Linked DNA regions of Homo sapiens: regions 2, 3, 4, 5 and 6 are each linked to region 1. Evidence: promoter capture Hi-C in 16 types of primary human blood cells and fetal thymus (Javierre and others, 2016). All regions are on one chromosome and are shown on one strand. Each heading gives the region's core, a stretch centred on a gene start or on the middle of the fragment in contact. The rest is flanking DNA. Distances are from core to core; before and after follow the strand shown.

Region 1 (4,064 bases), core at 768-3,267:
GGATAACGGCCCAGGAATAGTGTTTGGAGAAAAAGGAAGAGAGGCCCAAGGCCAGCCCATGGGTAGCGCCATTATTTAAGGCACACTTGTAGGATGAAATTTAAGAAGGTCAAGAAGTAGCAGATGAACCTGAGATGCCAATGATGCTTTTCAATGAGAAGCCTGTAGTTCTCAAACTTATATTTTAAAATATAAGTAATAACTACATTTATTGAGCCTTTTATTCCTGGCACTGTGCTAAGGGCTTCAAATTTTCTCTAAAACACAGGGTGTAAGAAATGTGATGTCACATTAAAATTTTTCTCTAACCACATCCCAATGCTCTGAGCTGGTGGAAAATGTAATTTGGGTCATCAGTAGGATTTTCCACTCCACACCCAAGATTATATGAAGGTTCTAGGGGTCTTAGTCTCAGTCCAGTACATTTGGAAAAGGCCCTCTAGTCTTCACTCAATGCTGATTACTGCTAATATTCTCATTTTCCCACCTCATTCATCCCTTGTAGGTGAGCTGCTTTCTTGATTCCCTGCCAAGCTTGGGCATAAGGGTCTTGGTCATGGTTGGAATCTCAGATACCTAGCACGCAATCTCCCTAATATGCTACGCATTCATTCCCACCTAAGGTTCCACCACTTTCCTCACCTATTAGGTTCCTGGTAGTCACATAACCGGCAACTCTCCTTTTCTGTCGTTCAGCTAGTTGCCACCTACCTCAACCAAACTCAAAAGCCTCTAACCCCTCTCCACTGTGTGAAGACGGAAGTACCTCAATGGACACAAGTGTTTTTGGTGAAAGGGACTTTTTATTCTGCCCCGGAGCTAGGGAAATCCCAGATCTGTGCCAGAGTTATCAAGGGGGTAGTATATAATCATTCTCTGCATTCTTTTACAGCACTGAGAACAAGTAAAATTCTTACCTTAGTATCTTTACAAATCATTTTACCACACATGTATTGTCGTATGAAATCCCTACAACCACTCCATGCAGGAGTAATTCCCAGTTTACATCCTGAAGCTCTGATAAATTTAGAAACCTGCTTTAAGTCACAGAGCTAATAAGTAATGTGTAGGTGCTATAAACTATGTGCCTTGGGCTCTGCAGCTATGAGGGCGTGGTATTATCACAGTTCCTATCGAAATACCTTGCTGGAGGTCATGTGTGAGTGGCAGTGACCAGACAAATAGAGAAACCTCATATACAGAGGGGAAAAGTCTCCATGTATAGTGCCTGGGATATCTCCATGTTAGTGCTGCTCTTTCTTGGATCTTCACCGCAACGCCACTATCTTGATTTTACTATAAGAAACTGAGGTTTCGAGTGCACTGGTGATTTGCCTACTGCCACAAAACCAGGCTAATGGGCTGGGCGCGGTGGCTCAAGCCTGTAATCCCAGCTCTCTGGGCAAAGGCTGAAGCGGACGGATCACCTGAAGTCAGGAGTTCGAGACCAGCCTGGGCAACATTGGCGAAATCTCGTCTCTAATAAAAATTTAAAAATTAGCTGGGCGTTTGACGCGCGCCTGTAATCCCAGCTACCCGGGAGGCTGAGGCTTGAGAATCGCTTGAACCGAGTGGCGGAGGCTGCAATGAGCCGAGATCGCGCCACTGCACTCCAGCCTGAGCGACAGAGCGAGACTCCTTTTCTACAACAACAACAAAAAACCAGGACAAATCTTGCTGGCTTCCAGTATGGTATTCGTTTCATCTCACCAAACTGGCGTGGCCTGCGCTAGCTTCAGAGTCTCGACAAACTCCAATACAAGTAAGGTACACATTATTTTAGCAGTCTTCCTTGGGGAGGACGTGGGGCAAGCACAAGCGTAGCGTTAGGCCTGAGACTCCACCCCAGCCGTCTCTGAGCCCAGTTCAGCACGCACGCGTCAGGCGGCTTTTTTCCGCCCGGCTCCTTTCCTCCACTCCCTTCCCGCCACTCCCCGCCCTTTTCCCGCCCGGATGTTATTCTAGTTTTGCCGGATGTTGTTGTATGTCCGAGAGACACGTGAGGTTCTGCTACGTCATTACCAGGCACGCGCAGGAAACATGGCGGCGGCGGGTGTTGTGAGCGGGAAGGTAGGTAACGGCCTCCAGGAAGACCTCGGCTTTTCTCTGGGACGGGGATGCTTTTGCTCCCTGGCAGCTGGTTGGGGGAGGGACACGAGGGACTTTCTGTGTCCGGACAACCCGTGGCGTCTGTAGGAGAAGACTGGGTGGTACCAGCTGGTTTCCCGAGAATGCCAGTTCAGCCGCGGAGTTATAGAGCCGGCTACTGCTCCAAGGCCAGCTAGGCCTCGGCGCTCTTCTGCCCCAGAGCAGAGAGGCTTTTATTCGTATTACCTTTACTAAGGGACAGGTGGCTCTCTAGTTCCTTTTTTCCCCCGATTCACTGTTTCTTGACTCTAGTTCTTTATGTCTACTCTTCTGACTCCAGCGTCTTTTCTCTCTTTGAAGCGTTAACCCGACTTGCCTCTGTCTTCTTTGCTACAGTTTGGTGAAGATGTTTATGCTTCCTTCGGGAGGAGCTGAATAGATGCTAGGCAGCTAGCTGTGCGCTTAGAAGAAACGAGTGTATTGGGTCTGTTTTTACCAAGCTGCTGAGTTGGTTGGTGGTTGTGAGCAGCAGGACGTGTTTCCTGAGAGAAATGGAGATTTACACCATCCTGTGCTTGTCTAGGAAGGCGTCCAAATATTTATTTCCTAGGCATTTCAGTAGGAGTATTGGTCATGCTGGTTTACGGAGGTGGTCAGTGACACGCCTAATTTCGTTGGAAACTAGAATTACGTGCGGAGATTTCGTCGAATAGTGCCTATTCGCGTTCCGAGGGCACATCTTATGCATAGTTAGGGCTATCAGCTTTATGATATGCCACCGATAGTATTTCCCAGTGCAGGAGTATTTCATAAACAGCTGGAATCAACTGAAGTGACTCATCGAACACTAATGGTTGTTTACTCATTGCAGATAGCGTCCTCTGTTCCTTGAGTTTCACTCATGTCTCCCTGTTGCTTTCCCTACCCCATTTTGAATTATTTGACAGCGTTTGTGGTTTGGTGTTTGGAGTATTAGACTAGGCGGCTGAATGACAAATATGGGCTTGGTTTTGCTGTTAATCTGAAGTATGACCTTGGAAAATTGGGCAATTGTGACTTTTGTCTTTTCGCGTTCTTTATCTGTAGAATGGAGGAGATGCCAATCATTATTTCTTGTATTGGAGTTGTTAGGGTTATATAAATTTTTTTTTAAAAAAACATAAAATTACACACTTGTACCTACTGGCTCTTTTAAAGGATAGGTGGGCATCCTTTTTTGGATTATTCGTGCTCCTTGGTTGTCTTGTCAGTTTTTTTCTTTTTATATTCAGGGTGGATGCTGATATACTGCTTGACTTACTGCGTATTTGAAGATTATCCTGTTTGATTTTCCATCTAAACTGATCCAGGCTGGGACTTTTCAAGAGGGGATCCCTTCCGTTTAAACATCTCCCTCTTTCAGGTTTGGATTGATTTTGAAAGAATCCTTGAGGCAATGAAGCAGAGTTGTGAAATGAAAAACATTTTTCACTCTTTGCAGCCACTACCTTTCATAGTCTGACTTCTTAAAGTGAGACTTATATTTAGTAATTCTGCTTCATAACCTCATTTATTCTCATTCACTGCAAATTCACATCTATTGCCATCACTCCACTGAAACTAGTTTTCCATGCCAAAAGCTGCTCCTCTCCCAAGTAATACTATCATGACCAACAAAACCCACTTGTTCTTCTCTCAGTAAGTTCAGATCTGGTTTAATGGCATCATCTTTCACCTGGTTGCATGTTAAACATACTTGGAGGCATTCATTCCTATAACACTCTCTAATCAATAACCATGTCCTACCAGTTTTACCTTAAGAGGTTTCTTAAATTTACTGCATCTTCTTTACTATCAGCGCATAGTTCAGGCTTTTAGTCTGCTTCTATTCTTGATTTCTTGGCTGATTTTACTCCTTTTCTACAGTCTCTGCCCTTAATCTTCTCTACACCACCACTGGAGTTATTTTTCTAATGCGCAAACCTGATAATCTCTTG
Region 2 (4,336 bases), core at 5-2,504, 220 kb before region 1:
TCATTTTTACCTGTAAGATGAAGAATTTGCACATATGATAAAAAACCTCTGCATTCTGAGGATTTTTTTCAAATGCAGTAAGCCACACTGCTCTGGCTTTGTCATGCTGATTTGTTTGCAAATATAATGCAACAAGAGCTTCCAGCAACTGGCAGTTAATAGGACATGATTCCAATAAAGATTTACAAAGCTCCATTGCAGCCTCATACCTTAACAAAAAAGAAAAAAAAAGGCTAAAGACATGAAAAGATCACTTTTTAATATAAGGTTAGCTGCTTGGCAATTAAGTTGTACCTCTCCAGGAGTTGGTGCAGAGCAATCATGTTTGTGTAAAGTGGAAGGCAGGCCTCTATTCTTTCCTCAACAGCAAGGCTCTCATCTGTGCAAGCTTTCACTGCATCTACCCAAAAACATCACAACAACATGAATCACGTCAATCATAAAAATGAAATATTTGACTGTGTTACTTCAACTCTGAGAGACCAATGGGAAAAGATGACCCCTCCCTTTGATTACCCATCCATCATCTTATTCACCTTTACTGAGCTGGCTTTTACTCAAAGGAAGTAATTCAAGTAATCTCCAAAATCCTAAAATTCAATTCCTTACCCTCAACTTTCCTGGTAAGAATAAAGCCATCCCATATGAGCTTTTGCATCTATCAGTGTTTTCATTTAAACAAGTATCTCTGCAATTATCCTAAATTCTTTAAAATCCATCTCAACAAAAAAAAAATTACAGAATAAATTATCTTTTCATCTTTCCCTGACCACTGCAAAGGAGGTCTTGCTCTGCTGCCCCACAGCCATTTGAATGTCTCTCCAAACTAGATCCTTTCCTTACTCCATCAAAACACACTTTTCCCCTTGTAAAGAGTTCTTTCTTGATCTTTTTGCCACTTATTAAACGGTACAATGTTTTACTTTGCCCAGCTGTGACCATTTCCTCCTTACCCAATGGTACCACAGCTTCCCAGATCTGTGGAGTTTAAAAGTGAATGCAATCACTTTGAAACTGTCTTCTTGAAGTTCATTCATAAGGACTCATATCTAACCAAACATAAAAGCTCACCTCTACCTTCATTTTATTTAACATTTGACAGTGTTCTTTCCCTTCTTTTTAATTTCTTCTTGCCTCTGCTTCCAATAGATTGTTTAAATTTCCTCTTAGTCCCATTTTAATGACTCTACTCTCCCTTTTACTCCTTACTGTTATGCTCTTAAATCTCATTTCCTCAGAAAAAATATCTCATAGCCTCAACTACTGCATAATTTACTTCAAAAGCACATTATAAAAACTGTAAAGCACCCTGTAACACAGTAACTTCTATGTGAATAACACTCAAATCCACTTATGTATTGATAATTGTCCAATTAAGGTCCACTTCCTTTTCTTTTTTTTTTTTTGAAATGGAGTCTTGCTCTGTTGCCCAGGCTGGAGTGCAGTGGCACGACCTCGGCTCACTGCAACCTCTGCCTCCTGGGTTCAGGCAATTATCCTGCCTCAGCCTCCCGAGTAGTTGGGATTACAGGCACACACCACCATGCCCGACTAGTTTTTGTATTTTTAGTAGAGACGGGGTTTCACCACGTTGGCCAGGCTGGTCTCAAACTCCTGACCTCAAGTGATCCACATGCCTCAGCAGATTATCAAGTGCTGGGATTACAGATGTGAGGCACCACGCACGGCCAAGGTCCACTTCCTTATTTCCTACCGCCAACAATCATTTCCACTTGAATGACCAATTACAATCACAAATACTACTCCTACCATCAAAATCAGTCTTCCCAACTTACCAGTTTTCTATTAATGACACTTTCCTTTTCCCAGTCTCAAAACCCTGAAATCTTTGTTTACTCCTCCTCCTCTTCCCTGACATTTAATCTTCAACCCCCCCGCCTCACCCCCATGTATTTCCATGTGATAACTTAAAATATCTCTAATATCCTCCTTACCAGAATACTTTTCTTGTACTTCAGTTACTGCCATCAGCTTCTGGTTGGTTTTCCTACCATTGGTATAATTTCTCTTCAAGCACATTCTCTTTCTTAAAGAACCTCTACTGCCATCCAGTCTACCACATTTTCAAGATTCTTGACAATCAAGTATCATTCTACTTATCAAGCTTAATCACTACTATTGTCCAGCACAGAATTCTCAGTCTGATAAGACCTATCCCTTTTCCCAATCTCACTTCAAATCCATTGCATAAATTCCCTTCTACCTGTTGCTTTTTGTTTATTTAACTCCCCTAACAGTAATGTCCTTTCTTTTCTCTCCTTCCTTCACAGGGTATTTAATAAGCACTTAATAATTTGCCAGACATCCTTACAGGCCCTTAGGAGTAAAATGATAAATAAGACAAGGGTCCACCCCATCTCTGATGAGACCCACTTTGTCATACTGATAGCCATGCTTCGACATCTAGCTCCAGGTCCCCATTCTTCTATGAAGACTTCCTTGATCATGCCAATCTATAATAATCTCTTCCCTTTGGGTTCATGGCCTGTATCAAATAATTCTATAAATCACAGATCCTAGTCTCTTTTTTTTTTCTTTTTTTTAGAGACTGAGTCTCACTCTGTTATCCAGGCTGAAGTACAATGGCATGATCTCAGCTCACTGTAACCTTCGCCTCCTGGGCTCAAGCGATTCTCATGCCTCAGCCTCCCGAGTAGCTGGGAATACAGGCGTGAATCACCACGCCCGGCTAAATTTTGTATTTTTAGTAGAGATAGGGATTCATCATGTTGGCCAGACTGGTCTCGAACTCCTGACCTCAGGCAATCCGCGCACCTTGGCCTCCTTGGCTGGGATTACAGGCGTGAGCCACTGTGCCCGGCCCTAGTCTCTTTTACGTAGCATACAATTTAGACTATATACTAACACACAGTTATATGGCCTTGTATGTTTAATAATTATGACAAATGTATAGATTTTATCTTCTGACTAGGCTATATACTTCCTTCAGGAAGAGGCTTTATATCTTGTAATGTGTTCCACAATAGTCGTATCATTTAATATAGAGAAGCAACCAAACTCACTGACTGATGGAGAAAATATTAATTGGTTGAAAAGATAGAAATCTTTAAACTTCCACCTTAATGGACTGCTAAAAAAAAAAAAAAGTACCTAGTTCTCTGATTTAATCAATTCATCAAACTTACATAATTTATTTTCTCTACGCATTTAACAGATATCCTTTGCCACAATCAGAAAGATAAACAATGTAATATCGTGCAGTTATTGGTTTTCAAAGATGCCAGTGTCCATCTTCTCTGATTCAAGACTTAATTTGCCTAATAAATTGTGAAACTAAAACTTGCAATATAGAGATATAAATTTGTTCCACTTAATTACAGAGAATCACAATAATGGGTAGTTAATGTTCTAAACACTGATGTTATAACAGTTGATATTACAATTTATAAACTTTATACTTACCTTCAAAAACTGCTAACAACATGTCAGGATTAGTCTTTACATCTTGAACAGCTTGCCATGGCATTACAAATGATTCAGTGTTAACAATTCTTGAAGGATTATCATTAGATGGATCATAAAATTTTGAAGGGAGAATGTTGAATTCAATAAGATGTATGTAGGCCAACCATGCCAAACATCGATCACTGGTTTTAAGGTATTCAGCTACTATTCCATCATTAGCAGATTTCAATGCATTCTAGGCAAAATTTAAAATTTTTTGATAAAAAAATTAGAGATGTCAGTACCAGATTAACATAATTTTTACTATGCTAAAGTTTATGAAATAATAAAAAGGTCACATTTATTTGTACATTTTAAGTGTCCTGATACTTAAAATCTAATAAGACAAAGACAAAACAGTAAAAAGAAAAAAAATCTTTTAAACCACACCCATATAGATTATTTTCATCAGACTGATTTTTTTCCTTTATGGCTTAAATCTTGAAGTTTACCTGTGGATACTTAACATAAAATATTTTCATTGAAAACTTATAAAAACTCTAAAGATATTACACCCATCAGGCAAATGAGGAAATAAAGTCATAAACTTACCCAATGTCACATGACTTACTAGTAAGTGGAAAAACAAGGATTCAAATCCAAATCTTGTGCTTTCAACCATTAAATAATGCTATGGATAACGGTGTAGACCTTTTAAACTTTTTCTGCAAAATGCAATTAAATGCTGTACCAAGTGCTTACCTGTAAAATTGCCAGTGCACTTTGGCATCTTCCAGTAAATATGTGCAGCTGAACTCTAAACAAAAGAGCCTCTAAAAGCTGAAAGGACAAAATATTGGATGTTTCCTGCTTGGCTGCTCCCATCAGAAACTCCAACATTCTCTCACAT
Region 3 (4,120 bases), core at 619-3,118, 250 kb before region 1:
TACCTTTGCTATTTAAGTATTTTTTTTTTTTTTTTTTTTGAGACGGAGTCTCGCTCTGTCGCCCAGGCTGGAGTGCAGTGGCGGGATCTCGGCTCACTGCAAGCTCCGCCTCCCGGGTTCACGCCATTCTCCTGCCTCAGCCTCCCAAGTAGCTGGGACTACAGGCGCCTGCCACTACGCCCGGCTAATTTTTTGTATTTTTAGTAGAGACGGGGTTTCACCGTTTTAGCCGGGATGGTCTCGATCTCCTGACCTCGTGATCCGCCCGCCTCGGCCTCCCAAAGTGCTGGGATTACAGGCGTGAGCCACCGCGCCCGGCCTGCTATTTAAGTATTAATATTTGTACTTAATACTCTAAATATATTGCACTTATCATAAAAAAAGCAATCTTTCACAAAACGAATCAAAATATCATTACCAACTCCTGAATTGTTTATGATTGATAAGCCATTTTGTCCTGACTTTTGTGAAGGTTATGATAGTTTGGATTTTATAAGCTAGAACTTTTATTGGTCTCAAACTTCTTTTGCAATATAAGAAAAATCCTCACAATTAGAAAGAAATATATGAATAACAAATCAACCTTAAATTATTTAACATGGACATGAGTTTAAACATGAGTTTAAAAACTCATGTACTTGTTAAATAATTCATTTGATGATTATGTCAAGGCCAAAACATGAGGACATGCAATTCCCAGGGCACAAAGAAACACACTGTTCCCCTTCGGTCCCCATCCCCCAAAACATGAGAAATGAAATTATTTTTCTAGACACCTGTGCCAGACCCTACCAGCTCCAGTGGTGATTCCTGCTCTCCTTGCATGGATTGCAAAATGAAACCATCAAGTACTAGTAGGAGGCACAGCATTATTGCTAAAATTAACACGTTTACAGAGCACCCACAGGGCACCTGGCACTGAGTTTTCCACCTACCCATCAGACTTAACCACATGCCCAAACCTAATTAACAGGCATCAAATGGGATCCTCTTTTGTGCAGTCCATGCTTGGCTTGGCTTATCTTCAGCTGAAACAAGAGCTCACTCCTCTTACTCTCCCACCTCTTAACCCAGGCAGCAGATATAAAAGTCGCCTCTAGAGGAATGCATCTCATTCTTTCTTTTCAATATACTTGCCCAAAGTCAGGAACAAGTCCTGGCAGCCCCTTTGTCTCCCGCTCAAGAAAACACAAGTCAGTAATGTAATTAAAAAAAAAAAAGACACTTAAATTCACTCCAACTTATTTCTTTAGATAAATCCACAGGCTTTATTATTTTATTGACAAAACACTAGTTATAATACACCTTACACAAAACACTGCCATCTGATAAATGTTCTCCACTCTAATATAGCATAATCAGAAAGAACTTGAATTACATCCACAAATAAATAAATCTACAGTGAGAAGGGGAAAGATGTACTGTTCAGACATTGAACAACAGTAAAGAACAAACCATGGAACAAATTTGTAAAAACCATAAACTGTGAACTAGCTTAAAGTAAGGCAGTAACAATTTTGTTTCCAAAAACAGGTTCATTCATTCAACAAGTATTCTGCACCATTATGTGCTGTATTCTATGCACTGCGGATAACAAAACAAGGTCTGGAATTCGCATTCCAGCGGAGGGGAGATAGACAGTAAACAAATATAAACATGGAAATATCCGATAGAAACATAAATGAAGGAAATGAAGCTATTTTAAATAGTCTATTGGGAATAATTAGTGTGGTGCTTTAGAAATGGAGCTCCGGAAAGGCCTCTCTGGAAAGCCACCTTTTAGGCTAAGACCTTATGCTCACAATGGAGCTACCTTTGCTTTTGAATTTAACCAGTTACATCAAAAAACTCATCATTTCTAGTCCCTCTCTTCATATGTCACCTATAACTATTTTCAGGGACATTTTAATAGAAAAATATATTAGGTGGCTGTTACTGCACATCATTTTTTTTCAACTGTTACAGAAGAGAAAATCATTCTTATATGAAATAAAAAACATCTACTCATTTAGTTTTGGCTAAAAATATAACAATAAAGCAGTAAAAGGAAATAAAATTAGCAACACCTTCTTCATTTAGAACCAGAAAAACTCTAACATATGAAAAAGTAACAATGTCCTGCTTCTTTTGTTAATCTTATCACATTTAGTTCAGAGGCCCATCTGATGAGAAAGAAGTCCTAGATAAATAGATGGGATTGCTGTGACCCTACTGGTTCCATTCATGCTCTTCAGTACTGGAGATTTGATTTTACAGTTCCACTATGCAGATAAAAGAGACTATCTTCCTATGGGCCACTAAACACTAACTATTTTCTCTCTCAGGCCACAGAGACCCTTAACTACAATTAGGTTATGGTCACTTTTCCTTGCAAGTGAAGTGGGGAGGGGCTGTGTAGCCATATCCCCATTTCGATGTCCTCCTTATGAACATTTCTAAAGATGTTGAACTCAGATTCTACACTGACTCGTTCATCTCATACACAAGTTCCTGAAGCCTATTGGGTAGGATGATAAAACTTCAGAAACGGGCAGAAAATGCATGTGATAGGCTGGAGAAGCATTATGGAATACAGGTTCATACTCATTGTGGACATGACTTTCCACTCTAGAGACAGTACTTTATGGGAATGTTGAAAACATGCTACTCCATGAGAATAGTGAATGAAACAGTGAGTGGAATAGGGAAATGATATCCTATCAAATAATAGTCTAAAAAATGGAGAATGTGTCACCTGGAGAAAAGCAGGCTAAAGGAAAATATTTAAAATATTTGAATAATTGAAATTTACTAAGTGCTTTCTTAAGTACGAGCCTATAGTAGGCCAAATAGTAAAATGATTAAGCTCAACTGCCAGACAGACCTGGGTTCAAATCCTACTTCTGTTACTATCTGTGTAATCCTTGGACAAGGTATTTAATTTTTTTCAGCCTCAAATTTCTCCTCAAAAAAATGGGCATCACACCACCAGCCTCATAGGATTGGAAATACTAATAACTCAGTGTATATAAAGTTACCATCACACTACCTGAAAAGCATTGAATAGTACGTATTTAATTAATGGATCCTGTGTTTCCCCCTCTTTTGACAGCCTTATGGAATGAGCAAAGCAGGCCTTGTCATTTTGCCAATGAAAATATAGAGTCAGAAGGATAAGTGACTTGCGAAGGTCACAGATGAGGAACTAGGACTAAAACCCAAGTTTCGCTTAATAGCACTGAAAAACAGTCATAGAGTAAGCTGACTTACTCTTTAAGAGAACAAGAACCAACTGGTGAACGATTCAGAGAGACAGATTTGGCTTACCTAAGAAAGATTCCATCAGGTCTCTTGTATACCAAAAAAAAACTATCATATTGAGTGAGAAGTTAGATCAAATTACAGCTAACTTTCCAATGACGAACATTTTGGATGAATGCTTGTTAGTCTTCTCAGAAGGAATGCCAGATTCAGAAGATTGCTGAGGAAGGCAATGAGACCTTATATCAACATCCTGAAACGAGAGGGTATATAGTTCTGTGTCACAAGTGGGTGGGCATTTCTCAGTCCATTCAGCATGGTGAAGGATAAAGACGTGAGATTTAAGCCCACTTGTTACAGACCTGCTGTGGAACACTAGAAAAGCCCCTTCATTTTTTCAGCTCCTGACTGACTCTGATCTTTGCCCTCAAACTACTGATGAAACAATATCAACTCTTTAAGGTTCTAGCAGGTTTGATGTCTGTTCTTTCTACTGCTCTCTCTCCCCACGTAGTGAGAAATACAGATAAAAGTCAAGTAAGCCAGAGCCACAGTCCCAAATCACAGAAATACCATCACCAAAGAGCAATAGATGGCAAAGTTAAGACATCACACATCAGATTGTCTCTTTAGCTGCTGACAGTCCTCAGATGTCTACCTGTCACTCTATTTGCTGCCTGCCTTCCTTCTTCCTTCATATCATTTTTGATCCAAGGCTGTAAATATTAGATTACTGAGGTGAAATATTTAATGACTGTGGTTAGTTAGCCTCTTTTGATCATAAGTCATGATGGAGAGTAGAGAGTTATTGGGAGGACACATGTGGAAATAAGAAAAACAGGAATCTGGCTGGGCACGGTGGTTCACGCCTGTAATTCCA
Region 4 (4,015 bases), core at 1,060-3,559, 130 kb before region 1:
TGACACAGTGTCTTACAGCTACATCATTTATAAAATCATGTGTCAGTTTTCACACAGCCTGCACATCGTTCTGACATGCCCTTTTTTTCCCTGGAGATTTATCCTCATGACATACAAGGGGACAAAAATATTTATTGGGACTGTCTTTGAATTTAGTAGAATCACTGTATCATTAACAGTTTGGGGAAGTACTGCTTTGCAGTCCTTTATTTGAAAACTTAGGTCTAGCTGTGTTTTGCATCAAAATTTTTGAGCTATTCAAAAACTAATAGGATCTGTGTAAAATATTTCACTCAAAACTACTAAAAAAAAGTCTGGGATGGCAGCTCATTATCAAATATACTCCTATTTTTGTGGTGATTTATGAACATCCCCACTAAGTATAACTAAAGATCATAAAGAGCCTCAGATCAAGTTTGGTCAGGTTTTGTCACCAAGCTTTGTAAATAAACTGGTTTTCATAGCTTTTTGGAGATGAGAATTGAGGATAAGAAATTGTGTCTCTGTCCTTTTTTTTTTTTTTTGTTAAGTCTTACATGTATTTTACTGTAACATCTTTTGAATTGGATATTTAACTAATTCAACATATTTTTCCTCTTTGCAGAATGGGCAGTTCATGTTAAAATCACTTTTCATGGAAAGAGCTCTATGTAACAGCATAATAAAACTGCCTACCTAGCAGCATAAAGGTGTACTGTTTCTTATCATACTGTTCCATGATAGAAGAGAGCAGATATATGTGGCTTGGGGCAGCTCCTGAAGAAGACTTGCAGGAGTAGCATGTTGAAAACTCATTAAATGGAGCCACCAAGAGACCAAAGAATTGATACAGCAGGTCATTCTATTATTAGCTTTTCTCATTACTTGAGTTATCTGTTTCTCACATATATCTTTCCTGTTTCTAGCTGCTGTACACATAGGATGCTGCCTGCAGAAATAGCAGCCCCGCCCCAATTAGATAAAGGACTAGTATAGAGAAAAAGCATGTGAAATGATGTTTTAAACTTTGCCGCATACCTGTGATATGAACAGCTGCTGCCTGTTAGGCACAGTGGGTATACTAGGGCCCAATCATCTGATCTTCCTGAAGTTTTATGTAATGTTCCCAGTGCTATCACAATGAGAATGATCTATACTAGCCACCAGATCTCAGGTGAATTGTGGTGTGCTTTAAAAATGAAAACACAGCCGGACGAGGTGGCTTATGCCTGTAATCCTAACACTTTGGGAGGCCGAGGCGGGCAGATCACGAGGTCAGGAGTTCAAGACCAGCCCGGCCAACACAGTGAAACCCCATCTCTTAGCCGGGCATGGTGGCGCATGCCTGTAGTCCCAGCTATTCAGGAGGCTGAGGCGTGAGAATCACTTGAACCCAGGAGGCAGAGGTTTCAGTAAGCAGAGAGCGTGCCACCGCACTCCAGCCTGGGTGACAGAGCAAGACTCCATCTTGAAAAAAAAAGGAAAACACAATTATGTGGCTTAATTATTTAATCTCCTTTATGGAGTATCTGTTTTTATAACTCCAAGTGGTTCTTGATATTTTAAAAATACTTAAGCATTCAATATGTATTCATTGAATTAAGTTGTTTGACTCTAATCATTGTTTCTTTTAAGAATGACTGGAAGGTGATAATCAGCACCATATTCCTGGAGGAAAATACAAAATGAAAAACCAGTTTGGCTACCTGAATTTCTGAGAACTGGAATGTTTCCAGCATTTTTCAATCATGCAAAACAATATTAATGCTTTTGAAACTAATGAGCCAGGAAATTATTGAAGAAGTGAAGGAGTGGCAGGGCGAGGCTTGAAATTATTTTCTCTGACAAGACTTCACTCTCCATTTATCATAACTGCCCTCTTCAAAAAAAAAATTTTTTTTTGTAGATCTAATCGTGAATCTAGACAAGATTTATTTTTATTTATTTTTTATTTTTTTGAGACAGGGTCTTACCCTATTGCCCAGGCTGGAGTGCGGTGGCACAGTCATAGCTTACTGCAGCTTCAACTTCCTCAGCTCAAGTCATCCTCCCGCCTCAGCCCCCAAGTAGCTGGGACTACAGACTTGCACTACTACACCCGGCTACTTTTTTTTTTTATTTTAATTTTTTGCAGAGATGAATCCAGACTATGTCCTATGTTGTCCATAATGGGTTTGAACTCCTGAGCGCAAGTGATCTTCTCACCTCAGCCTTCCAAAGTGTGAGATTACAGGTGCAAGCCACCACACCCAGCCAAAAATTTATTTTATAAATATGGCAACTCTTTTTTTAAGTTTGGATTTTTAAATTTTTATTAATATTAAATAATACACTGACTATTCCTTTTTAAAAATTACAACATTAGGCCAGATGTGGTAGCTCATGTTTATGATCCCAGCACTTTGGGAAGCCAAGGTGGGAGAATCACCTAAGGCCAGGAGTTTGAGACCAGCCTGGGCAGCACAGCAAGACCCCGTCTCTACAAAAAATAAAAAATTAGCCAAATGTGGTGTGTACACCTGTAGTCCCAGCCACTCAGGAAGCTGAGGTGGGAGGATTGTTTGAGCATGGGAGTTGGAGGCTACAGGGAGCCATAATTGCGCCACTGCACTCCAACCTGGGTGACAGAAACTCTGTCTCAATTTAAAAAGTAATAATAAAAATAAATAAAAATTACAACATTAGACATAAAGCTAAAATTTTTTTATTTTTTTTAGAAGGAATCTCGCTCTGTGGCCAGGCTGGAGTGCAGTGGTACAACCTCGGCTCACTGCAGCTTCCGCCTCCTGGGTTCAAGTGATTCCCCTGCCTCAGCTTCCTGAGTAGCTGGGACTACAGGCGTGCACCACCACGCCCAGTATTCTTTTGCCCCCACTATCTCCTCAGCAACTCTGAGCTCCTCCTATCTTCCCCAAGCTAATTACTGATATAAATTTGGGATATGGGCCAGGCACAGTGGCTTATGCCTATAATCCCAGCACTTTAGGTGGTTGAAGCAGGAGGATTGCATGAGGCCAGTAGTTTGAGACCAGCCTGGTCAACATAGTAAGACCCCCATCACTACAAAAAAATTTAAAATTAACCAGGTGTAGTGGTGTGTGCTTGTAGTCCCAGCTACCCAGGAGGCTAAGGCAAGAGGATTGCTTAAGCCCAGGAGTTCAAGGCAGCAGTGAACTATGATTGTACCCCTGTACTCCAATCTGGGCAGCAGAGTGAGACCCTATCTTTAAAAAATAAAAATAAATAAATTTGCAATATTTTGTACATAATTTGTTTAAGTGTGTTTTAACACATTTTAAACTCAATGAAATTGTTATAATTAGTATTGTCTTTTTGCTGCTTCAAGTCAGGTGCTTACATCCTAGAAAAATCTAGGAAGAAGGCCGGGCACGGTGGCTCATGCCTGTAATCCTAGCACTTTGGAAGTCCGGGGCAGGCAGATCACTTGAGGTCAAGAGTTCGAGACCAGTCTGGCCAACATGGTGAAACCCTTCTCTACTAAAAAATACAAAAATTAGCCGGGTGTAGTGGTACATGCCTGTAGTCCCAGCTACTCAGTTGGCTGGCTGAGGCACGAGAATCACTTGAACCCAGGAGGCAAAGGTTGCAGTGAGTTGAGATTGCACCACTGTACTCCAGTCTGGGCAACAGAGTAAGACTCCATCTCAGAAATAAAATAAAATAAAAATCTAGGAAGAAAGATTAGAAGGATGTACACCAAAATATTCTTGTTATCTGAGATAATTACAGATGTATTTAATGCTATTAAAAATACACATACAAAACTAATTTTAGGTTTTTTCTAAAGTCTGTAATCAAATTTGTTTTTTCTATGAATCAAAAACATGCTCAAAGTAAACAAAATAATCTCTGGGAATCACCCTTCTTTCCCTTCCACCCCCTCCTCATTATTTCAAATCTTATTTCTTCTCTTTATAAACTACTTTATTAACAATGAACTGAAAGAGTAAAATGGAATTTTAGTATAACATAAAAGTAACAGTGGATACTCAAGGGAATTTTTTGATACCTTTAA
Region 5 (4,599 bases), core at 1,636-4,135, 190 kb before region 1:
TTGAACAGCAAGAGCACAGAGCTAAGCTCGTTAGTTCCCACTAGTCAGACAAGCTCATTAAATTACTTGCTCTGACACTTAATTCCTATGTAACTTTAGGCAAGTCACTTAATCTACTCAAATGACTCTTACTTCATCTACAAAATGTATATAATGTCAACTTGATTCATAGGGTTATTGTGAGGGTATTAAAAAATGTGTATGTGTACGTTATATTATCATTTCTAAATTCAGGGCCATCTTTTTCCTAAAGCTCCTAGACTATTTAAATCATTTCAATTTATGCAAAAAAACAAACTGAAATCTCAAAAGAAAAAAACTACAGATATTTCAGATCTCTAATTCAACAAATTGAAAAGGCTTGGGTTATTGAGTGCCTGTTATACGTCAAACACAGTGCTTGAGGCTTCTGTGTTTCATTCTACTGAAACCTCACAACAACCCAGATAACAGAAGACATTAAGTTCAGTTTGTAGAAAAGAATATAGAAGCAAGCAAAGGCTAAATAGTTTATACAAAGTCACTCAGTTAACAAGAAGTGGAGGTAGAATTTGACACCAGGTGAAGGTCTACCTTACTCCAAAAGCTTACCCACACAGGATAACACACAAAAAATGGAGAAAATATCTGGATCAAAATTAAAGGTTTCAAAAAACAAATGATTAAAAAAAAGATCCCGTATGAATATATATAACACTTTAATTAAACATAATTTGCAGAACCCAGGGAAAAGAGACTGCAAGATGTCGATCCAGAATTTCTTTAAGGCTTATGTCCAAATGGAGTTATAGGAATGATGAAAGAAAATAAGTGAAAGTAAGATAGACTTCCCTTACAAAAGAACAAAATAAAGCAATGCAAAAATGGGTCTTACAGAGATGATAGTCTCACAAAGCAGTATCTTACCTTTTCAGACAGAATATCTGAGGTACTAATTCTTCTTGTTAAATTTTGTTCTTTATCTTGTAATCCTTTAAAATAAAATAATATCTTTTGAATAATCCAAAAGATAGCCACAATCTAAAATAAAATAATCCTATATAATATCTGGTAATTATTTTAAAAGAGATCATTAAAGGGTCTCATTTTCTCAATCTCTCAACCAAAAGGAAATACCATTAAAGAGAATGAAAATCTGAACAAACTCTTATCAGCCTCATTCCTCAAAGTTATAAGGCAAAATGATTCAAAATATTAAAATAAAGCCACACTTTTAATAAAATGACTTCTGAACTAGAAATAGTCACTTCAAATGAGAAGAGAATTTATAAAGCATAGAAACAAGCAGCAACACTTAATTACCAAGTGGATTATCCACACTGATAGAATATAATGATGACTAAATTAATCCAGTCCTCTAAATTGGAATGAATGCAATGTTTACAGACTGTATTGGATTTGTGCATTAGAGAATTGGTCATTTACCTAGAAAAGCATCAGTAGAGGCAGCTTAAGTATCAATAAAATTAAGTCCATCCATACATTTTTTCCAGATATCTAGCCTTGGGCCCAGATGACTGATGAAATAATGTACAAAATCTTACATTTATATATTACCTAATCTACAACAGCTTTAAACATCACATGATAAAGTTACAGAATATCTACAATCCTGTTGAGATACTTTTGTAGCTAAAACAGATTATGTTAAAAACTCAGAAATCTTTCCTTAAGATGACAAAACTGAAATTGCAAAGCTAGGATTTAAACTAGATCTTAATTTTAAGTCTGGTGTTTTTACCATAACACCACACCTGTCAATGTTCCAAACATCCTAATTTGACTGCTCAAGTGAACCAAAGAATACGTGACTTATTCAATAAATAAATGACTAATCTAGCATCTAAATCAATGTAAATAGAAGGCAATGACCAAATTTCAAGACAAATGAGTTCTGTTGAAAGGCTTAGTCTATAAATGTGAATTTGTTGCAACATGACTGATACATTAGAAAATAATTCGAGCAGCCAGGCACAGTGGCTTATGCCTGCAATCCCAGTGCTTTGGGAGGCCGAGGCGGGTGGATCACCTGAGGTCAGGAGTTCAAGACCAGCCTGGGCAACATGGCAAAACTCTGTCTCTACTGAAAATACAAAAAATTAGCCAGGCATGGTGGTGCACGCCTGTAGTCCCAGCTACTCGGAAGGCTGAGGCAGGAGAATCGCTTGGACCCGGGAGGTGGAGGTTGCAGTGAGCTGAGATTGTACCACTGTACTCCATCCTGGGTAACAGAGCAAGACTCTTGTCTCAAAAAAAAAAAAAAAAAAAGAAAAGAAAAGAAAAGAATTTGAGCATAACACAAATTTATATTTACTTATGTGTGATTTGTCTCAGAGAAACACTAAGAATGCAGAAAACTGCACCCAAGTGATCTGAGCCATGTAGGAATACACAAACAACATATACTTCAAACATCTATCAAATACCCAAGTTCATTGCGTGTGTTATAAGCCACAGCCATCCACATCTGGTATTACAATTTACTGTCTGATTTCAGGTAACACTCCTTGTTTTACTTCATAATAACTCATAAGTAGCAAATATTCCACTTCCACAGGTGTACTTCAGGTCTATTTTATGGAATGCTGACATGTTTACTTTAATATTTCACACTTTTTTTCTCCATTTCACATGCAAAGCTGTGCTATCATTTTTCATTTATTCCTATCTTTTTTTTATATGCCACGGACAAAGTTTTTGAGTGTTGTTCCTCTAACCCCATTTTCTCCACACACCCTATTGTTTTTATTGCATAATTTTGCAGTGTGGTAATTTTGGGAAATGCATATGTCCCACTGTAGAAAAAATGATCACGCTTTTAAAAACAACAGAATAGTAATAACTATTATACAAAAATAAACAGGGAAACATTAAACACTAAATTATTCTCCTACATGAGAAACTTATGAGTTTCATTAAGTCATGAGAAATCTACTGGTTGATTAGGATCTCACTTGTCTATAAAAAATGGCAGCACCTCCCTTTAACGTAGCATAGAGGCAAGTATCTATTAACATAGCAGGTACCTTATGACTACATTGCTACCTTAAAAATAAATACAATAGGCTGGGTGTGGTGGCTCATGCCTGTAATCCCAGCACTTTGGGAGGCCAAGGCGGGTGGATCACGAGGTCAGGAGATCGAGACCATCCTGGCTAACATGGTGAAACCCTGTCTCTACCAAAAATACAAAAAATTAGCCAGGCGTGGTGGCAGGCACCTATAGTCCCAGCTACTCGGGAGGCCAAGGCAGAATAATGGTGTGAACCTGGGAGGTGGAGCCTGCCGTGAGCCGAGATCACGCCACTGCACTCCAGCCTGGGCAACACAGTGAGAGTCAGGAGAATGGTGTGAACCTGGGAGGTGGAGCTTGCAGTGAGCTGAGATCACACCACTGCACTCCAGCCTGGGCAACAGAGCGAGTCCGTCTCAAAAAAAAATTAATAAATACAATAAATTCAATAAATACAAATTTCAGACAATAAATATAACTTTACACAAAGATTATAAATGCAGGTTTAAACTGATCAAATGGGTAGCTAGACATTGTTCTACCACTGTCATAGGTCTGTACAATAAAATTATCTCAAGTTTTACTCAAAACCTCCAAAATGAACACTGTTCTTGTCACACAGTATTTAAAATATTACCAACTGAAAGTCTAATGTGAGCCAAAGTCACCAGCACACAGGTAGTAGTTAAAACCATAATAATGAGAATATCCCTAGAAAATGGGACACTGAGGACATGACGAATTAAGAAATTACACAGGAAAAGTAATTATTTAAAACAAACAAAAGACAGAAAACAAAAATCAGAAAGTTATTTTTAAAATCCATTGCAGAAATCCCAAAATTTCAAGGGAAGAAACATATCACTGAATATAGTAGAGATGTCTACCCCCAATAGAATATTCTCAGCAATGCAGCCAGAGTGATGCCTTAAAAATATAAAACAGATTATGTCAGTCCTTTGCTCAAAACCCTGTAAGAGCTCCCCATTTCATTAGGAATAAAAAAACAAAGTTCTTACAAGGCTCTGTCTATAAGATCTGCCCCCTCCTGCCATCTCTAATCCCTTCTCTCCCATTATTCATTCCCCTCACTCTCCTGTATTAGCACAGGACTCCTTGTTATTCCCCAAACATGTCAGGCATCTTTCTGTATTATGGTCATTTCTCTAGTTCAGCGATGCCCAAACTTCAGCATGTAGCAGAATCAACAGAAGGGCTGGTTAAATACAGATTGCTAGGCCCCATTTGCAGAGCTCCCAGTTCAATAGATCTAAGGTAGAGACTGAGAATTTGTGTTCTGTCAAGTTCCCAGATAACGCAGTCCCCAGGAACCACACTTTGAAAATCACTGCTCTAGTTATTCCTTTTGCATAGGAGCCTCTTCCACCAGATATCCATTTGGCTATTCCTTTACTGTCTTCAAAGTCTTTCTTTAAATCTCACCTTCAAATAGACACCATGCTGACCACCCTATTAGTGCTGCAACCTGTATCCTCAATAACCCTTTCCTACCTACCCTGCTATACTTTTTCTCTTTCATAACAGTTAATTTACACATCATGTTTACTGTTTTGCCTTCTAAAATG
Region 6 (4,284 bases), core at 323-2,822, 240 kb before region 1:
TTGAATTTATGTAGTCCACATAGCTACTCGAAATAAAGACTACATTTCCCAGCCTCCCTGCAGTGGCCATGTGTCTATGTTCTGAACAATCGGACAAAAGCAAATGTGGCATGTTCAGCTTCTGAGTCCTCCTAAGAAGCGAGGCGGGTCATGCTTCCCTTCATTTTTCCTTCCTGCTAAATACAATGTGAACAAAAAAGCTTGGGTGTGGAGCAGCCATCTAGAATCATCAGGACCACCAGCCCACGTGGTGCTGTTGTGCAATTTAGAAAAACACCAACCCTCCCCATAGAACTTGGATTCTTAATGGTCCCTTTGTGTGAATTTTAAAAAGGCCACCCTTCCTCCATGCCGACTCAACGAGTGCCTTCGGGTGCTTGATGAGTTGATCATGGGATTAATTTCATCCCCTGCTATTTCAGTCTTTTGGCCATGTATCCTTGTACAGGACATGACTTAACACAACCATAGGTAGCACCCCTTTTGGGAAAGGAGGTCACACAGGACAAACAGATAGGTGTCTAGGTCTCTGTTACAGCGGAGTATCATACAGTCAGCCCTGGTCCACCCTACTTAAACTTTTAAGCCACTGCTATTTTCATCTGTCAATCCTAATATAGAAAGGGTCATTCACACTGAATTGCAAGCCTTGGATTTTACAACTGGCTATTTTGACTCACATCCTTTCCTCCCCACCCCCAAATTAGATATTACTTTTATTTAGAACAGCATTAATCACCAAGTGAACACTACCAATGGACCCCTTGTTCTGCATTCTGTGATTTTTCACCACTGGGCCACAGCTTCAGCCAAATTTGGTCTAACTGTGATAAAATTGTGGTTTAAAAAATCCAGCAATTCTTTTCTCTTAAAAGTATGTTCCTGGAGGATTATCTTATATGCAAACTCTATGCAAGTCCTCTTGCCTGGTTAGGTCATTTTATGACTGCTGCCTACAAAATAAGTAAACTTAATTGGTCAATATTCTCATGTCCTGTTATAGGCAACTCCAAAAAAGTGTGGAAAGTGGCTTGGATTATCAAGATACTCTCTACACTTAAATTCTGAGTACTGAACTAAGGGGTAGTTTTTATCCTCTATTTCACCACAAAGGGAATCCAGCCAACATGCTGAGAATCCTCAGAACTGAAAACAGAAGCAGACTAAATTTTGATTCCTTTTGACTTTAAAACCTAAAGACCATGTTTTTAAAGAGATGAGGTCTCTCCATATTGCCCAGGATGGTCTCAAACTCTTAAACTTGAGATCCTCCTAACTTGGCCTCCCAAAGTCCTAGGATTATAGGCATGAGCCACCACGCCTGTCTCAAGACCATCTCTTAACTGATATTTTTATCTGTTATTTTGGTAATGCCAGGAATGAGCCACTGAATTTAGACAGCAACTTTTTTTTTTTTTTTTTAATAATGACATGGTCTCGCTATGTTGCCCAGGCTGCTCTCAAGCAATCCTCCTGTCTTGGCCTCCCAAAGTGCAGGTATTACAGGCCTGAGCCACGGTACCTGGCCTAGACTACAATTTTCTGTTGTCTCTCTTACAAACAGCAACTAATTCATGCTTGAGCATTGGTAGAGTTATATGCTCTTCATCAAGTGACAGCAATGAAATTCTGTCCAGGGCTGGGCATAGTGCCTCACATCTGTAATCCCAATACTTTGGGAGGCCTACGCAGGTAGACTGCTTGAGGTCAGGAGTTCAAGACCAGCCTAGCCAATATAGTGAAACCCTGTCTCTACAAAAAAAAAAAAAAAAGCCAAGCACGATACTGTGTGCCTGTGATCCCAGCTACTCATGAGGCTGAGGTGGGAGGATCACTTGAGCCCAGGAGGTCGGGGCTGCAGTGAGCAATGACTGCACCATTGCACTCCAACCTGGGTAAGAGACCCTGTCTCAAAACAAAAAAACAAAAACAAAAAAAAAGAAAAGAAATTAGGTCCAGAGGAAGCAAACTATTATTTTGTAGCATCTCTGCTTTCAAAATTTTGGAACACGATTCCAAACTCAAAATACTTTTTTTTTTTTTTAAGGGTAATTCCTATTATTTGATCTCAACACCCCTGAGGTAAGTACACATATTTCCCCATTTTGATGCAGAAAAAGAGACGGGGGCAGTGAAATGGCCTGTCACAATTACATAGCTAGTTTATGGTAGAGCTGAATCTAATACCCAGATCTTTTAAATACACGCTTTTTCATCACTCACATTGGTTCACACTTCTCAATTTCCTGAAACTATTTCTTTGTAGCTCCATTTCAACCAGTATGAAATGCCAAATCTATCTCCTGGCAATCTCATAAATTTCACTGTATGATGTGCCAAGTTAAGTGTTTGTTTTGGCCTTGGCAGCAGATGCCCTGATTATGTCCACTAATGCAAACAGCTCACCAGTCTATCACTCTTCCTAATTGATTCAGCTCCTTTACACCGTTGGCTATCATTCTCTTTCATATGGCTTACTTTCGCTAGGTAAGAACTTTTCCAAGATTTAAGCTGCTTGATCAACCAAACATTATAAACCTACCTTTGATTTCAGCAGACTTGATAATCAGTCTTGAGGCTTTCAGATTCCCAAAAGGCAAATGTATATACTTTTTAAGAAAGGCTATGCAAATAGTTTTCATGTTTTATTTAAAATTTTACTTAATTCATAGAAGATGGCCCTTGAAAAGTCATATTTGTTTATAGATTGGATAGTCTTCAAAATTTATTAGTCTTGCATAAAATCGTCATGTTATTCTATGGTAATTGAAATACAATTAACTCACATATTCTTAACATTCTATTCACTGTTTTGTATTGTTTTGTTCTTAAACTGGAGGGAAAATTCAGATCCATGACAGCACCCACCACTTAAGAGTCATATTGGCTTCAGATATTCTGGAACCTCTGTATTCTTGATCAAACTAGGAAGCACACATTCCTCTAAGCTTAAAACTTTTTTGTTATTGTTGTTACTCAACAGAGTCATTTTATTCCTGGCTTTAATTAGCTTTACATTGGTTGCAAACATCTCTGGTATTGGGTCAAATAGAAAAATCACTTTAAAGCAGTGAAGACACTTTGGGCCATCTTTGTTTTTGAGACGGAGTCTCGCTCTGTCACCCAGGCTGGAGTGCAGTGGCACTATCTCAGCTCACTGCAAGGTCCCCCTCCCGGGTTCACGCCATTCTCCTGCCTCAGCCTCCTGAGCAGCTGGGACTAGAGGCGCCCACCACCACGCCCAGCTAATTTTTTGTATTTTTAGTAGAGATGGGGTTTCACCGTGTTAGCCAGGATGGTCTCGATCTCCTGACCTCATGATCCACCCGCCTCGGCCTCCCAAAGTGCTGGGATTACAGGTGTGAGCCACAGCCCCTGGCCCACTTTGGGCCATCTTTGGGTAGTTCTGTGTAAACAGAAAAATAACCATGACTCTTAAAATATAATGGATCAACACCATAGGAAAGGTTAAAAAAAATTAATGGAAAACCATGTAGACTGGAATTGAAATAGTGCTCTGCAAGTTGTAGATAATAAATGTTGAAAGTAACATTTTATTCATGCATTACCCAAGAAGTTAGAGAGAGAGAGGGAAAAAAGGAAAAGCTAGTAGCAGCAGCTGCAATTACAATCAGACTTTGGATATCAAGGCATTTAAACTGGGTCTTCTAATAGGATTACTCCTAGTCAGTCATGCTCATGTGGATTTTGAAGCACAGGGTGCCCCCAAAGGCACTCTCTTCTGAACAGTTAGGCTGCTCTGTAGTTTTACACATCTGTTACCATGTTTAATGAATTTTCAGTTGTGAATGAATTTGGAAAGTTAAAGCTTTTCAGAACGTTTTTTAAAAATGCACAGGATTCCAAATGTACAGATAGAAGTGACACAATTTTTGAAAATATTATTGAGCTCAACTTTTCCTCCATTTTATCCCTTAGCCCAATGATTCACTTCCATTCAGGGAGCCTTTCCCAACTTCTAACTCAAGTTAGGATAGATACCCTTTGAAGATGCTTCCTTGGCATACGTTCCTTTTCTGTTAGAATGTAAAAGGGGATCCCTTTACTCTTCTCTGTATTGAGATTGCCTAGCACAGAGCTCAAATGGATTCTGAAATGAAAAAATGCCTGATTCTCTTCATGAGGCCTCTGAAAAACATGTTGTGGGGTCCCTCTTGTGAAGGTCACCAAATGAGAAGTGGAGACAAACTCCATATCCATTTTACCATTTGTGGAAGACAGGGGCAAGTTTCCATTATCTACCTCAAAGATATCAGAAAAAAT

Evidence for each region. Contacts are between HindIII fragments. The CHiCAGO score rates a contact against its expected background, and 5 or more counts as called.
Region 2: a contact is called between a fragment that was not itself captured here and the fragment with the promoter of TBC1D15 in region 1, in 8 of 17 cell types (non-activated CD4 T cells, activated CD4 T cells, naive CD4 T cells and 5 more). The highest score is 9.7, in non-activated CD4 T cells.
Region 3: a fragment that was not itself captured here is called in contact with the fragment with the promoter of TBC1D15 in region 1 in 1 of 17 cell types (activated CD4 T cells); the score reaches 5.0 in activated CD4 T cells.
Region 4: a contact is called between a fragment that was not itself captured here and the fragment with the promoter of TBC1D15 in region 1, in 1 of 17 cell types (neutrophils). The highest score is 5.7, in neutrophils.
Region 5: a contact is called between a fragment that was not itself captured here and the fragment with the promoter of TBC1D15 in region 1, in 11 of 17 cell types (naive CD8 T cells, non-activated CD4 T cells, total CD4 T cells and 8 more). The highest score is 15.5, in naive CD8 T cells.
Region 6: a fragment that was not itself captured here is called in contact with the fragment with the promoter of TBC1D15 in region 1 in 5 of 17 cell types (activated CD4 T cells, non-activated CD4 T cells, naive CD4 T cells and 2 more); the score reaches 11.7 in activated CD4 T cells.

Annotation. Positions count from the first base shown.
Region 1 is chr12:71,837,742-71,841,805 of GRCh38, forward strand. It overlaps TBC1D15 (TBC1 domain family member 15), which reads left to right and starts at 2,018. Exons shown (of 17, transcript NM_001146213.3): 1 at 2,018-2,070. The coding sequence starts at 2,041. The HindIII fragment of the contact is 6,842 bases long and covers 533-4,064 here.
Region 2 is chr12:71,619,916-71,624,251 of GRCh38, forward strand. It overlaps ZFC3H1 (zinc finger C3H1-type containing), which reads right to left. Exons shown (of 35, transcript NM_144982.5): 23 at 4,189-4,336; 24 at 3,445-3,682; 25 at 295-400; 26 at 11-209. Among named protein-coding and RNA genes, the nearest start is that of ZFC3H1, 42 kb to the right of the region's middle. The HindIII fragment of the contact is 1,737 bases long and covers 387-2,123 here.
Region 3 is chr12:71,586,386-71,590,505 of GRCh38, forward strand. It overlaps LOC124902964 (a long non-coding RNA gene), which reads right to left. Exons shown (of 2, transcript XR_007063366.1): 2 at 1,245-3,493. Among named protein-coding and RNA genes, the nearest start is that of ZFC3H1, 75 kb to the right of the region's middle. RefSeq lists a silencer at 3,270-3,470. The HindIII fragment of the contact is 7,405 bases long and covers 1-4,120 here.
Region 4 is chr12:71,703,373-71,707,387 of GRCh38, forward strand. TMEM19 (transmembrane protein 19) reads left to right here. Exons shown (of 6, transcript NM_018279.4): 6 at 1-1,675. Among named protein-coding and RNA genes, the nearest start is that of TMEM19, 19 kb to the left of the region's middle. The HindIII fragment of the contact is 3,747 bases long and covers 437-4,015 here.
Region 5 is chr12:71,646,843-71,651,441 of GRCh38, forward strand. It overlaps ZFC3H1 (zinc finger C3H1-type containing), which reads right to left. Exons shown (of 35, transcript NM_144982.5): 3 at 907-971. Among named protein-coding and RNA genes, the nearest start is that of ZFC3H1, 15 kb to the right of the region's middle. The HindIII fragment of the contact is 4,603 bases long and covers 585-4,599 here.
Region 6 is chr12:71,602,877-71,607,160 of GRCh38, forward strand. No RefSeq gene overlaps it. Among named protein-coding and RNA genes, the nearest start is that of ZFC3H1, 59 kb to the right of the region's middle. The HindIII fragment of the contact is 2,748 bases long and covers 199-2,946 here.